Regions from separate parts of the Homo sapiens genome. Here region 2 is linked to region 1. The links are contacts of gene promoters, found by promoter capture Hi-C in blood cells and fetal thymus (Javierre and others, 2016). All regions are on one chromosome and are shown on one strand. The core of a region is centred on a gene start or on the middle of the fragment in contact, and the rest is flanking DNA. Distances in the headings are between cores, read along the strand shown. Region 1 holds the start of CETN3 (centrin 3). Region 2 holds the start of ADAMTS6 (ADAM metallopeptidase with thrombospondin type 1 motif 6).

The links. Contacts are between HindIII fragments. The CHiCAGO score rates a contact against its expected background, and 5 or more counts as called.
Region 2: a contact is called between the fragment with the promoter of ADAMTS6 here and the fragment with the promoter of CETN3 in region 1, in 1 of 17 cell types (total CD8 T cells). The highest score is 5.3, in total CD8 T cells.

Annotation. Positions count from the first base shown.
Region 1 is chr5:90,408,331-90,414,555 of GRCh38, reverse strand. It overlaps CETN3 (centrin 3), which reads left to right and starts at 4,800. Exons shown (of 5, transcript NM_004365.4): 1 at 4,800-4,911. The coding sequence starts at 4,895. LOC731157 (a long non-coding RNA gene) reads right to left here and starts at 4,556. Exons shown (of 2, transcript NR_105024.1): 1 at 4,252-4,556; 2 at 3,887-4,056. RefSeq lists an enhancer at 4,831-5,030. The HindIII fragment of the contact is 6,726 bases long and covers 4,710-6,225 here.
Region 2 is chr5:65,478,630-65,484,643 of GRCh38, reverse strand. ADAMTS6 (ADAM metallopeptidase with thrombospondin type 1 motif 6) reads left to right here and starts at 2,724. Exons shown (of 25, transcript NM_197941.4): 1 at 2,724-3,301. LOC124900986 reads left to right here. Exons shown (of 2, transcript XM_047417970.1): 2 at 1-303. RefSeq lists enhancers at 2,522-2,571, 2,345-2,844, 2,612-2,971. The HindIII fragment of the contact is 619 bases long and covers 2,297-2,915 here.

The DNA.
Region 1 (6,225 bases), core at 3,551-6,050:
GCTTCATTTTTTCTGCCTCTAAGTGGAAGAAGTTCTCTGATTTTTAGGACTCACATGATTAGACTGAGCCCACTGGATAATCCAGGATAAACTCCCTATTTTAAGGTTAATAACCTTAATTACACTTACAAAGTTCCTTTTTCCATGCAGTGTAACATTAACAAATTTCAAGGATTAGGACATGGACATCTTCGATGGGTCATTCTATCTGCCACACTCTTGTATTTTACATCTATCTTATTTTTGGATTTCATTCTTACTTTTCTGGAGTACATATTTCAGAAAGAGTATATGATAATTGAACTTTCTGAAATCTTTATTATGTACTCATAATTGAGTTTTGTTCTGACAGGAAATAGAATTCTAAGTTCAAAATAATTTTCACTTACAATTTTGAAGGTATTATCTTTCGGTATCTAAAGTTTCTGATGAGAAATCTGATACTAGCTCAATTCTTAAATTCTTTTATAAAAGGTCAGATTCTTGTGACTGGAAGCTTTTAGGCCTTTTTCTTTATTTTTGATGCTCTGAAATGGCTTCTTTATGTGTCTAGGTGTGGTTCTTTTACTATTATTTTGCTCAGTACTAAATGTGTTCTATCAATTTGGAGACCTGTATTTATCTTCAGTTCCTCGAAGTATCTTTTCAATGTGTGATATTTTTCTCCTCCTCCTCTTGTTCTCTCTTTCAGAAATTCTTATTAGTCAAATAATGAATTAGTCCTCCATTTTTTTCTCAAAATTCTCCATGTTTTTGTTTGAATACTGCAAGTTTTGTGATATTTTTTCAATTAAATCATCTTGCCAGTTTAATTTTTACATTCATGTTTATTTTCAACAGTCTTTTCTTATTCTCCAATGCTCCTTTTTCAGAGTATTCTGTTCTCTAATATTTTCTTGAGTACTTCTTAGGCAGCTTATTATTATTAATTTCTTATTATTTTATTTTGGTTCCTTAGCTGACTCAGAGTCTTCCTGAAATGGTTTTTAGTTTTATCTTTCATGCTGTTGATTTTCATATCTCTGATGGTTTTTCATTCTTCATTCATTTTAAAGACTCAGGCCACGTGCCGTAGCTCACGTTTGTAATCCCAGCACTTCAGGAGGCCAAGGCGCAAGGTGGGAGGTTGCTTGAGCCCAGGAGGTTGAGGTTGCAGTGAGCTATGATCTAAGGCCATGTCATTGCCCTCCAGCCTGGGCAACAGAGAGAACCCCCGTCTCTAAAAAAAGGAAAAAAAAAAGAGTGGAGTTCTAGATAGATGTAAAGAGACAAAACACTGGGGAGAGGAATCTGGAGGAACTGAAGTACAGTGGTTTCCTAAAGAGGTTTTAAATTGACATTTTGTTTTTAGCCCCCTTCTCATTTCCACCTTCTACTGTACAAGGGAACTCTATTCCTGGAGTCTCTCTGGGACTTTGCTAGGTAGATCAACTCTCTGTGAAACATAAGTCATCTCTGGAAAATTATAGGATGCCACTTCAGTGATCTGTTTCATTTGTCAACAAGTTTCCATATTTCTTTTGATCTTTCCAATAATTTTTTAAATACCTAGTCTGCTGATGGTCCCTCTCCAGGTCACTTCAGCTTTAGAAATTAATTTATTGGCTAGGCATGGGAGCTAATTCCTGTAATCTCAACACTCTGGGAGCCTGAGGCTGGAGGGTCACTTGAGACCAGGAGTTCTAGACCAGCCTGGGCAACACAGCAACACAGTGTAAAATTTAAAAAAAATTAGCTGAGCATGGTGGCATGCTTCTGTAGTCCTAACTTTTCAGGAGCTGAGGCGGGAGGATCCTTTGAGCCCAGGAGTTTGAGGTTACAGTGAGTTATGCCACTGCACTCCAGCGTGGGTGATAGAGGAACTCTTGATTTATTAAGGCTTTAGGAGGCAGACTAAACAAATATTTATGTCACTACCTTTTCAAAGCAGACATTTTTATTTACATTTGGCTGTCTCTGGAATTTCTGGTCTGATTACCATTGTACCAAATACATTTTAGTGTCCCATACAGCAATTTTTGTATTATTATTCTTTTTCACAGTTTAGTAAGTTATTTTTATAGAATTGTTGTTGAGATGGTCTTTGGAATACCTTTGTTCAATTCAAGAAAAATATGAGAATTTTGATTGCATCAAATTTAGGTTTAAAATATAATTAGTGTAACCACCTGTCTTATCTTTAGTAATAGATGATTAGACCCCAAGTTTCAGCAGAGCAGTTTTCCATCTAGAGATTTCTTGCCTCAACCTCCCGTGAAGCAAGAAGTGGTTGTCACTAGTTCTCACTAATTAAATATAATAAAAGTGATGCGTGTAAATTCCCTGTCACTCTCTTAAAAGGACACCCTATTGAAAACCTTTTAAAATCTGTTTGCCCAAATTATTTGCTTATAAAACGCACTCTGAGACCAAAAGCATCTCACAAAATCCTAGTGTTTCAGGAATGAGGTTTGAGAAACACTGGTGTTTAAGTATTCTGCCGATCATATTTAAAAAAGTATTTTCTAAACCCACTTTATATCCTAATAGAAAAGGTGTTACCTATTATTCAGTGCCTTTTTGACACTGAGATGATTTCCTTAACCTAACATTATAATTATTTAACACAGATTTATATTTTGAATTATCTTTGCACTTAACAAAAAAAAACTCAATTTAGTTATAGAGAAATGTTCCTTTAAGACAGTATCAAACTGACTTTGCTAACATCTAGGAATTTTGCACTTAAGTTCACAAATGAACATCAAACATGAGTCAGGCACTGGGGATACAATGGTGAGAAACATGCATAGCCTTCATCATCACTGAGCTTACACTGAGTGACTTTAAATGTTCTTTTAGGATGTGAAAGATTATGGCAGCTTCAAAAATTAAGCTAAGAAGCTCTCCATCATTTTCTATGACTTGAGTTTAAAGCACAAGATTTAGCTCTTATGATTTTTAATCATAAATCTGAGTGGGCTGGAGGCTTTTTATTTGTGAGTACAGAACTTTGGCATCTTTGTTCCAGTCCTGTCTGTAGTTATTGACTTAATTCAGTTTTCCACCTTTTTTGAGTTATGTTTTCCTTGAAAAGTGACTATTTCATTTTCTATTAATATTTATTGGCGGTATAAAATTGTATAAAATATTTTAATAATTTTTAAACCTCCCTTTTATTAAATTACCAACCTTACTAGTGGCACTATTCCTTTTCTTGTTACACTTCCTATAAGTCTTTGAATTTCACTGGTATTGCCAAAAACCAGCTTTATACTAGATTATGAGTACTTTATCAATTTTACCAATTTCCTTTTAAAACACTGTTCTCAAACTTTATCTTTACTAATTTCCTCTTCCTAATTTCAATTATACAATTTGTTCTTCGTTTCTAACATCTTCAAATAAATGCTTGGCCTATTTTTATTCTTTCTTATTTAAAATAATGTTCTCCTATAACTTGGTCTGTATCTTAAAATTTTAACATATAGTTTTTTTCAATATCATTATGTTCTAGTAACTACAATTTCTCTTTCCTTTTAGACTCAAAGGTGATTTATAAAGGTACTTTAAAATTTAAAATACGAACAAAATAAAAGTTCCACTTTTGTTTTTTAGGGGTGCTATCCCTTAGCTAATTTTTAGCTTATTCTATCATACTATCTTTCCTTGTGCAAATTTAGCCCATCCTTCTAGGTCTAACGTTTATGTCACCTCCTTTAAGAAGCATATCTTGTGTTCTCTCCCTTCTCTAAAATTTTATATACATCCCTTAAACATATAATGTTTATATATTCTCCGCCTTCAACTCCCATCCTCAGGCTATTTTATTCACGTTTATGAGATTTGCTGTTTAGCTCAGTATTTTGTGGATTTTCAAAAGATTCCACTCAATTTACCGAGCACCTACGCACCAGACATTTTATTAGGTACAAGGAAAAGCGTTAAATAGATATAATCACGGCCTCCAAGAAATTGAACCTAGTAAGAGACACGAATAAGCAGACATTCAAGTGAGCTTTAGGAGACTTGGTTTGGTAGTGAAGACAGTCTCATGTGTGTTAACAGCTTACAGCACTGAAAAATAAGAGACAGAAGGGAACAAATCCGTTTCAAACAGTTCAAAGGAGGAAAGAGAGGGAAAGGTGGTTTAGATACAGCTAAATCATAAATAGCCTGATAATCTAACCCTGTGATAATCCAAGTACAGCCACAGCACCTGCCTCAGAATCACTTGGAAGGCTTGTGAGGAGTAAAAACGCAGATTCATACCTACTGAAATTAGAATGGAGAAACGGACATTTAAGTCTGCATTTTAAACACATTCCCCAGGTACTGAGGCCATTCCAAGTTTTAGAACAGAGCACAGCCAATTTTCGCAGACCTTGTTCCTCAAGTACTCCCTCCTTCTAGCCGGAGGGTGGCCTGCAGCATGTCCCTTCCCTTCCCACCGCCGAAGCTGTCCATCCAGTTTCTGAATGGCGGCCCACAGACCGCACGGCTTTACGAGAGAGGAACACAGCGCCCACCCGCCAAACAGCCACACAGGGATCGGAGGCCGGACCCGCAAAGGATTCGGGGAAAAACGCATCGAGCCAATCCGAAGGGCGAGAGCGGCCCTAGATTGGGGGGGCGGGGGGGCGTTAGGAGGTGGGCGGGGCACAGAAAAAAAATTTTTTTTTCCTTGATTGACGTAAAACCTACCCAATGAAAATAGAACTGGTAAAGCTTCCGCCCCCTAATAGGCAGAACCATAGCGACATTTCAACCAATCCAGCTCAAAAGTGTCTATGTTGTGGGAGGTCCCTGAGGCCGCTGAGGTCGTTCGTGTCTGTTGAACGGCTGTGGGCGTCTTGCTGCCTTGGGTAGGGGGTTAAAATCGTTCTTGAGAGGAACGTCTCTGTGCGAAGAGATAATGAGTTTAGCTCTGAGGTCGGTAATAAGGAGGCGGCAGTGCTCTCCACACCCCGGAGCGGGGCCCAGGGAGGGTGTGTGTGGAAGGGAGGACGTTTGGGGCCGAGGCGAGGCAGGGGATGTAGTTTGGGACGCGGGAAAGGAGCCTAGGGCAGCCTGCCCGGATCACTCACCCTCTGGGCTCTGATGCCCTGCAGGGAACGAGACCAGTGCATTTCTGCTAAGGAGGTTATTTCTGTCAGCGCGTAGGGCTTTGGACTGCCAGAAGGTTGGGCTTAGTTGCGAGCGAGGTGGGAATGAAATATCGCGAGGCTTCTACTCTTGTTTCTCAGATCAGGTCGCGGACATCCCTTCATTCATCCGTGTGCCTGGTCAGGGCCCCACCTCGGCTGCTCCGCTGCTAATGCAATCACCCACCTATAAATTTTGGAAATAACAAAAACTCTTTCCTCTTCTCCCAGGGCCCTGCTTTACGGTGTAATTGGAGACCCATTTTAGTGACTTTAATTGGCAGTCTGTCTCTTGGATTTCCTAAATTTCTTGCATTTTTTTACCTTTCAGTTCTAACCTCTAACCCTCTGTTGCCCTCTCCCACTATGTAGACGTTGTACCGTAAAACTATCCATACACTTACGACACTCCGAAAATATTCCATGTTCTGCTAAGGGATAATCATGGTACCCTTGGATGGGGTCAGGGGTGGGTCGGTTCTGGACTTGGCCTCCAAAAGTCTCAGGAAGGAAAAGACTGACCCCAGGAATACCCAAGTTTGTGTCAAGTCAGGTCTCATGAAAGGAAGATCTTCCTCAGCTTTGTTATACTGCACCTACTAGTCACTTCCTAGCTTTTTTTTTTTTTTTTTGGAGCTTTCAGAGACCAAAACGACTTTCAAATGCAACTAGATAGGTGTTTTAAGTACAGTCAACTGGTTTGACATGTTAATGTGTTACCGGATTGTGTTTCAAAACTCGTTATTCCAGTGTTGCGGCTCCATTTGAAAATTTGGAGCACATTTAGATGGGCAGCTCTTAAGGAAAACATTTCTGGCTTTAAAATAATTTTTGCTTTTTTTCTTTAAGCGTTTCCAGAGTTTATGAGAAGTTAACCTCCGGTTTACATGTTAAATGAGACAAGACTCATCACATTTTTATATAGAATGAAGCACAAACATTGTATATTGGCATCTAATATTTGTCATATGTTTAGACTCATTAATATTTTCGATGGTTTGTTAATATCAATGGAGGAAATGACACATAAATTGCCAAACTGTTAAAAACGTGTAATCTAAAAACATTTTGAACCAACAGTGCTAAAATACTGTATAAGTTA
Region 2 (6,014 bases), core at 1,475-3,974, about 25 Mb after region 1:
TGGGGATGGTGGTTCATGCCTGTAGTTCCAGCTAAAATATATGTATTTTTTATTAGTCAATTTAAATAAGTAAATAGATAATAAAAATTTTAAAAAGAGACAAGAGAATGGCGGTTACATGGGCCAGTTGACTTGTGAAAATTCATTAGACTGGACACTTGTCATCAAACTATGTAATTATACATTTTTCTGCATGAATATTTTCAATTAAAAGTTTATTAAGAAAAGATGGAGCCATTGCAATGTATGGATCTTGATTCTAATAAAAAGGCATTTTTTAAAGCCCTTTTTGCAATTGGGAAATCTGAGTACAATATTTGATGACATGAGTTATTAATGTTTTAAGAATAATAGTGGTGTATATTTTTTTAGTACTTTTAGAAATACAGGGAAATAATGAAACGATATCTGATGAAATGATAGATGAAACAAAGTTGGTCACACTTGGACACTTGAAACTGGATGATGGCTACATGAGTGTTCATTATACTGTTTTTTTTTTTACTTTTGTATATGTTTGAAATTTTCTGCAATGCAGTTAAAACATTTACACAAACACATATATATACACATATATAAAGTTAAATTGACAGTTCGCCATTTCCCACCCTAATCAATTTTCACCAATTATTCACAGTATTCTTGACCCAATCAACTTGGAGACAGAATCTGTTGGAAAAATTTCATTACTCTGTTTAGACACAGGATGGCACTCTTTGAATAAGTAATTAGCCAAAGTCCACTCCCACTAAGTAAGCTCCTCTACAAGCTGCTACTTTGTAGGGCAGTTTATCTTAGTTGAGGGTAAAATCTTTTCAGAGCTTATATAGATGTTTACTGCTCATACCTTTATTTTTTGTGTGTGTGCTGGCTGTCCCTATTTACTGCCAGTACTTGAAAAATTAAGGAAGGTTAAGGTTCAACACTATTTAAATAGTCATTTGATGCCTACTTTTCTTATTTTTGGTGTTTACAATTATTGCTATATTTTGCTACCTCATGTATTTCACATATATGTACACACATATATATACACATACAAATACGCACACATACATACATACATATGAATCATCTTTATTTAAAACTCAATGCCCACTATTGAACAGATTTCTACATTTTAAATGGCTTTTAGCCAGATACTACTGATTAAGGTCAGGATGAGGACTATTTACTCTGTGGACAGATGCTTTCCACTTTCAACCCTTGAAGAAGAATTGAAATAACTGTATTCTTGGACGTTCTCAGTCTGATTCATGCCTCCTTTTAGCCAACTATTCATAGATTCACCAGAAGAATTACACCTACTACCTCCGGCGTAGGAAGAAAAAAAAAAATCAAATGGGCAATAATGTTAGCAGAAGCTTGATATTTAAGAGCTGGTATTCAGAAAGATCATCCTTCCTACCCCCTTCCCTCCGGTCCAGTTCTCCTTTCTGGTTCTCACCATCGGAAATTGACTTGGCATTAACTAAGGGCTGGAATTTCAAGGCGTCAATTTTCCCCTGCCCCCAACCTCGGAAACTCTTAAACAGCTCCCTATTCTACACTCAATGGTAGAGACAGATAAATGATGCAGCAGATTACACCGTTGAAAGGCAACATTTGTCCTGAGCTATTTTCACATTTTTTCCTGTTTCCGATGTATGTGCCAGACTTTGTTTGCTTGCTTAGGACATGGAAAACACTGGGCATTTTCTCCCCAGCGGCTTTCATTCTCAGCAAATGAAAGTGAAAGTGCTACATTGTAGCGGTATTTTATCCTTAAAGTCTGGACTGGCAGCTTGTGTGTAGGGGGGAGGGAGGGTGGGATTGGGAAGGTTGAAGAACCAGTTTTGAGGTTTTGTTTGTTTATCTTGAGATCGCAGCAGGGTTCCTGTTTTTTTCCCTTCCTTTTTTTTTTTGGTGGTGGGGTCCTACTTCGGATTTATTTTCATTTGGGCAGTCATTGAAGTTTCATTCAATGGACTGACTTAAAAAAATACACTCCACTTGTGGCTTTTCCCGGTTGCACTTTAAAACACCATCCAGTCTCACCCTCATCTGGAAATAATGCAAGCTTCTCTCTTCCTTCCCCCGCTCCCTCCTCCCCTACTTTTTTTTTTTCTTCTTCTTCTTCTTTTAAAGCTCCACATAACCTGAAGTCGATAATCAAATGGAAAATGTGCTGGTATTAGTTTACTTTAGTTTACTTTCCCTTTTGGTGCTAACCTTACTTGCTGAAGTATGTATAAAACACAGGCATTTTGTACACTTGTAGCTACTGAGTCTTGTGCCTGCTGCACGAATCTAAGCTTTAAGTTTCCTCAGAGGCACTGTTTGCGTGCAAGTTTTAACATTTTGATTGTGTGGATTTTAAAAATAAAATTACACGGAGAATGACACCAGAGATCTTAACAGTGACATTAGTCCATCTAAAGTCATTCATCCTTCTCCCTCCCCCTTCATTTTTCCAAGAAACAACTAATAGCAAACCAGGCTAGAATTTCTAAGAGAGTTTAGAGGAGGAGGAGGAAAAGAGGCGGAATGAGATAGGACAGAGAGGTTAGAGAGGCCAGAATTTCTCTCATTCACAGTGTGGAAAAGTTGACATTGTCTAAGCCCTTCTGAATGGCTGGTAGTTGGTTACCCCGATTGTACCTCTACCTCCCCTCCCCCTCCACGTGACGACCCAGGACACATGCGCACCCGACGCAGCCCAGGCACATCTGCAGACTGACGTCAGTGTGCTCTGCCTCCGAGGAAAAGCTGCCAAAATTTTCTCCTGCTGCAATTCAAGTTGGCTGGGGGCCGGTAGTGAGATCTAGGGCTACTTCAACAAAACTTTGCTGCCCTTCCTGCTCCTCTTGTCTTCTTTTCTCCTGATACCTTTTGATGCTCTGCACATGTTATTTGCATAGCAAAGGCACTAAGCTTTCCAGGAAGAGAGGGCACCACTTCCACCCCCAATAAGTCTTTTTTCCCGTCTTTTCTTTCTTTTCCTTTCCTTTTTTGGGGGGTGGGGAGGGAGAGAAAGGGGGTTTGCAAAGGCAGCATCTCAGAGTGATAGCCTAGATGTATTGAAGGCATCTCTTATTCTGCCAAATCGGAAAGTCAGTTCTCTAAAGCCCGGGTTAGCCAGACCATAGGGTTTTATTCTGGCTGCAGAATAACTGGCTGGTGTGGCTTTGCAAAGGGGGGCAAAAAATAAAAAAATAAAAAAAATTAAAAAAAGTTAGAGAGGAGAGGGAGTACGTGAGTCGTCCAGTGCAATCTCTATTGTCTGAAACTTACTTTTTATCAGAATTTGAAGATGAAAACGGTAAGGAAGACTTAACAATATTCAATGGAGCTTTTTTTTTTTAAACCAACAACTTGTGCTTTGCTTGTCTTCCGAATAACGCTTAGAAAACTTTTTTTCTGTGTGTGTGTTTTTTTTTTTTTTTTTAATGGCAATGAGTGAGCTTGACTGAACTCATTTTACAAATAGATATCTTTTTAACTCCAGACTTGTCGGGGGTTGTAGAATTCTGGGACTTGCAGTTATTTTATGATGCAAAAAAAATACGTTTATTTTATGAATATACAATACATGTTTTGTGAAGTGGACTTGATTATGATTATTGTAATCTTTTAACTGATCACCAAATAGTAATCCGGAAGGTAATAATGATGTGTGTGTTTTAAATTGATTTCCAGTTTTCTTACAGAAAAGTCTTATGCATTTTGTAGTTTCATGTCAGTGTCGTTAAGTCTTCAGACAAGTGCATATTTTATGCCTGGGCTCAGAGGGTAGCATTAATGTGCTAGCTGTAGCCCCGATGCTCTAGGACATGTTAAGCTCTTAATAGGCTAATCAAAGAGATGGAAACGTGTGTTTTTGATTTACTTTTGGCCACTTGGGACGTGCTAGACTCATAACCCTCCGGAGCCTTGTTTATCGGGGTAGGTCTGTATATATGGTGTATGGGACCAAAGTTCAGGGATTGAGGAGGGAGAGTGAGAGTGCAGGAATGGGGTATTGGGAAGCCTCTTTCTGATAATATGTGCTACAATTCCTGTCTTTGATGCTTTCTTTCCCTGTACTAGAGGAAAAGTGAGCGAGAGATTGAGAAAGCGCACTGAGAGGGAACAAGAGAGTGAGTTTCTTACTCTTGTTTTTATTTGAGCTGCCGGTGCAACGCGTTTGGGCCAGATGCCAACTGTCTGGGTCACACGCGTTTTATCCAAATAGATTTAGCGCTGCTGTCTGGAAATGGGCTGCTGAATGTTAACTTTAGGATCAACTCAACCAGGGCAGCTCAGACTGTTACCCTCTGTCTGGGCGAAGTGGAATGGTGGGGGCGGGGGGAGGTGAGGGTGTGCAGAGCAGAGAGAAAAAGGGAAACTGAACCATTGCTTGGAACTTTAAAAGAGACACTTGAGTGTGATTTTCAACATGTTCTTTTTATGTTCAAGTGTCGTGGACTAATTTTCTGTTCTTTTTTCTTTCTTTTTAGTTTCTGTTGATTAGACTGAAATGTTTAGATGTGGGGATGACAGTTTTCAGAATTCATGACAGGAAAAGAAACGTAACACAAAATTGGTGTAGTTGAAAGAAATTAAGAAAATTAATTTTGGAGATAATTGTTTTCTTGTGTTGCAGCAAAGTGGTAACTGCAGTCTGGTTTATGTTAATTCTGTGCTTAAATGTGATCGTTAGTGTTTTGAATTTTTGAAGAATAGCATTTAGAGGCAAATACGTTGATTTCAAACAAATCAAATTCATTCATTTGCCACAGCTGCAAATGAAGTCTGTGTAGTGGTCTTAATATTTTTGTGATTCCCAAGAAGAAAAACTTCTAGCCTGAAGACTGAAAATACTGTAATACTCCTTATGTCTGGTCCCAATACCTGTAAGATTAATTCCTACTCTTGTCTACTCTTAGCACTTCCTCTTTCTTTCCTTAGTAATCACTAGTAGTAGTAACTAGGATGGGTCTTTATGCCAAATTTTATCAAGTTTGTGACTTTAGTGAGTGAATGAAGGGAGTTACCATATTAAGAGATAGTTAACAGCATATTTGGAATATGTGTTGGGGGTAGTGGGGAGAAAAAGAGGGGAAGAGGTGGATAGCTCTCTTGCTTCTGCCAAAAAACATGGTTGATTATCAAGCTAAGCTCAAGAGAAAAAATTTATAATACAGAAAATGTGTATTTACTTGCTATCTGGAAAAAAGTGTGAGACTACATGTAATTTAGGGCTTGAGTTTTATAAATCATGGTTTGTATTTTTGCTTTTAGCTCATTTGCTTGATAGATATGTTTTGGGTAATTTATGTGTTTAGTTTCACCTTTCCTTGGAAACCAATCTCACAAATTTTATAAATGATCTAGAAACCTTTATACTTAGAGCCTAATTGTGTCCTTAGCATACAGTAGGTGATAATAAATGTGAGAGAATAAATGGAAATGAAAGAAGTTAATTTTCATATGTAAAAATTAAACACCTGAAAGGAGCATGGTATTGTTGTTTCTTCCATGGAGACCAAATCAGCCTTAAATAAATAACCAGAGTTAAGATGGATGAAAGAAGTTGAGAAGAACATTATACACATTCTTTAGCTTCATAATAATAGTTCACAAGAGGAAATTATTACCTTGGCTACTCCCCGATCACTTGAGTGGGAAGTAAAGATGATAGAGGAAAAAAGACAAGTAATACCCTCCAATCAGGGCAGACTACTGAGGAAATCACTATAGTGCAAGTTGTCTCATCATTTTTCTTCTTAGGTAGTGTAGCTTTGATCCATGGAAGCAGGTAAATGATCCCTTAACTTTACTGCCTGGTGCATTTGTGTTAGGGAGAAAAGCATATGTGAAATCAAAGTGAAATGGACGTTTTGGTTCTGTTTTCAAATTTAAAGTAGTTATAAGTATCATTATCATGACCAAAGTTCTTAACTCCTTGCTGTAAAAGACAATATAACTAGTTGATTGACTCCATCATCATATCTATTATTTCACATTTTTGAGGGAAAGAGGAACATGAAACT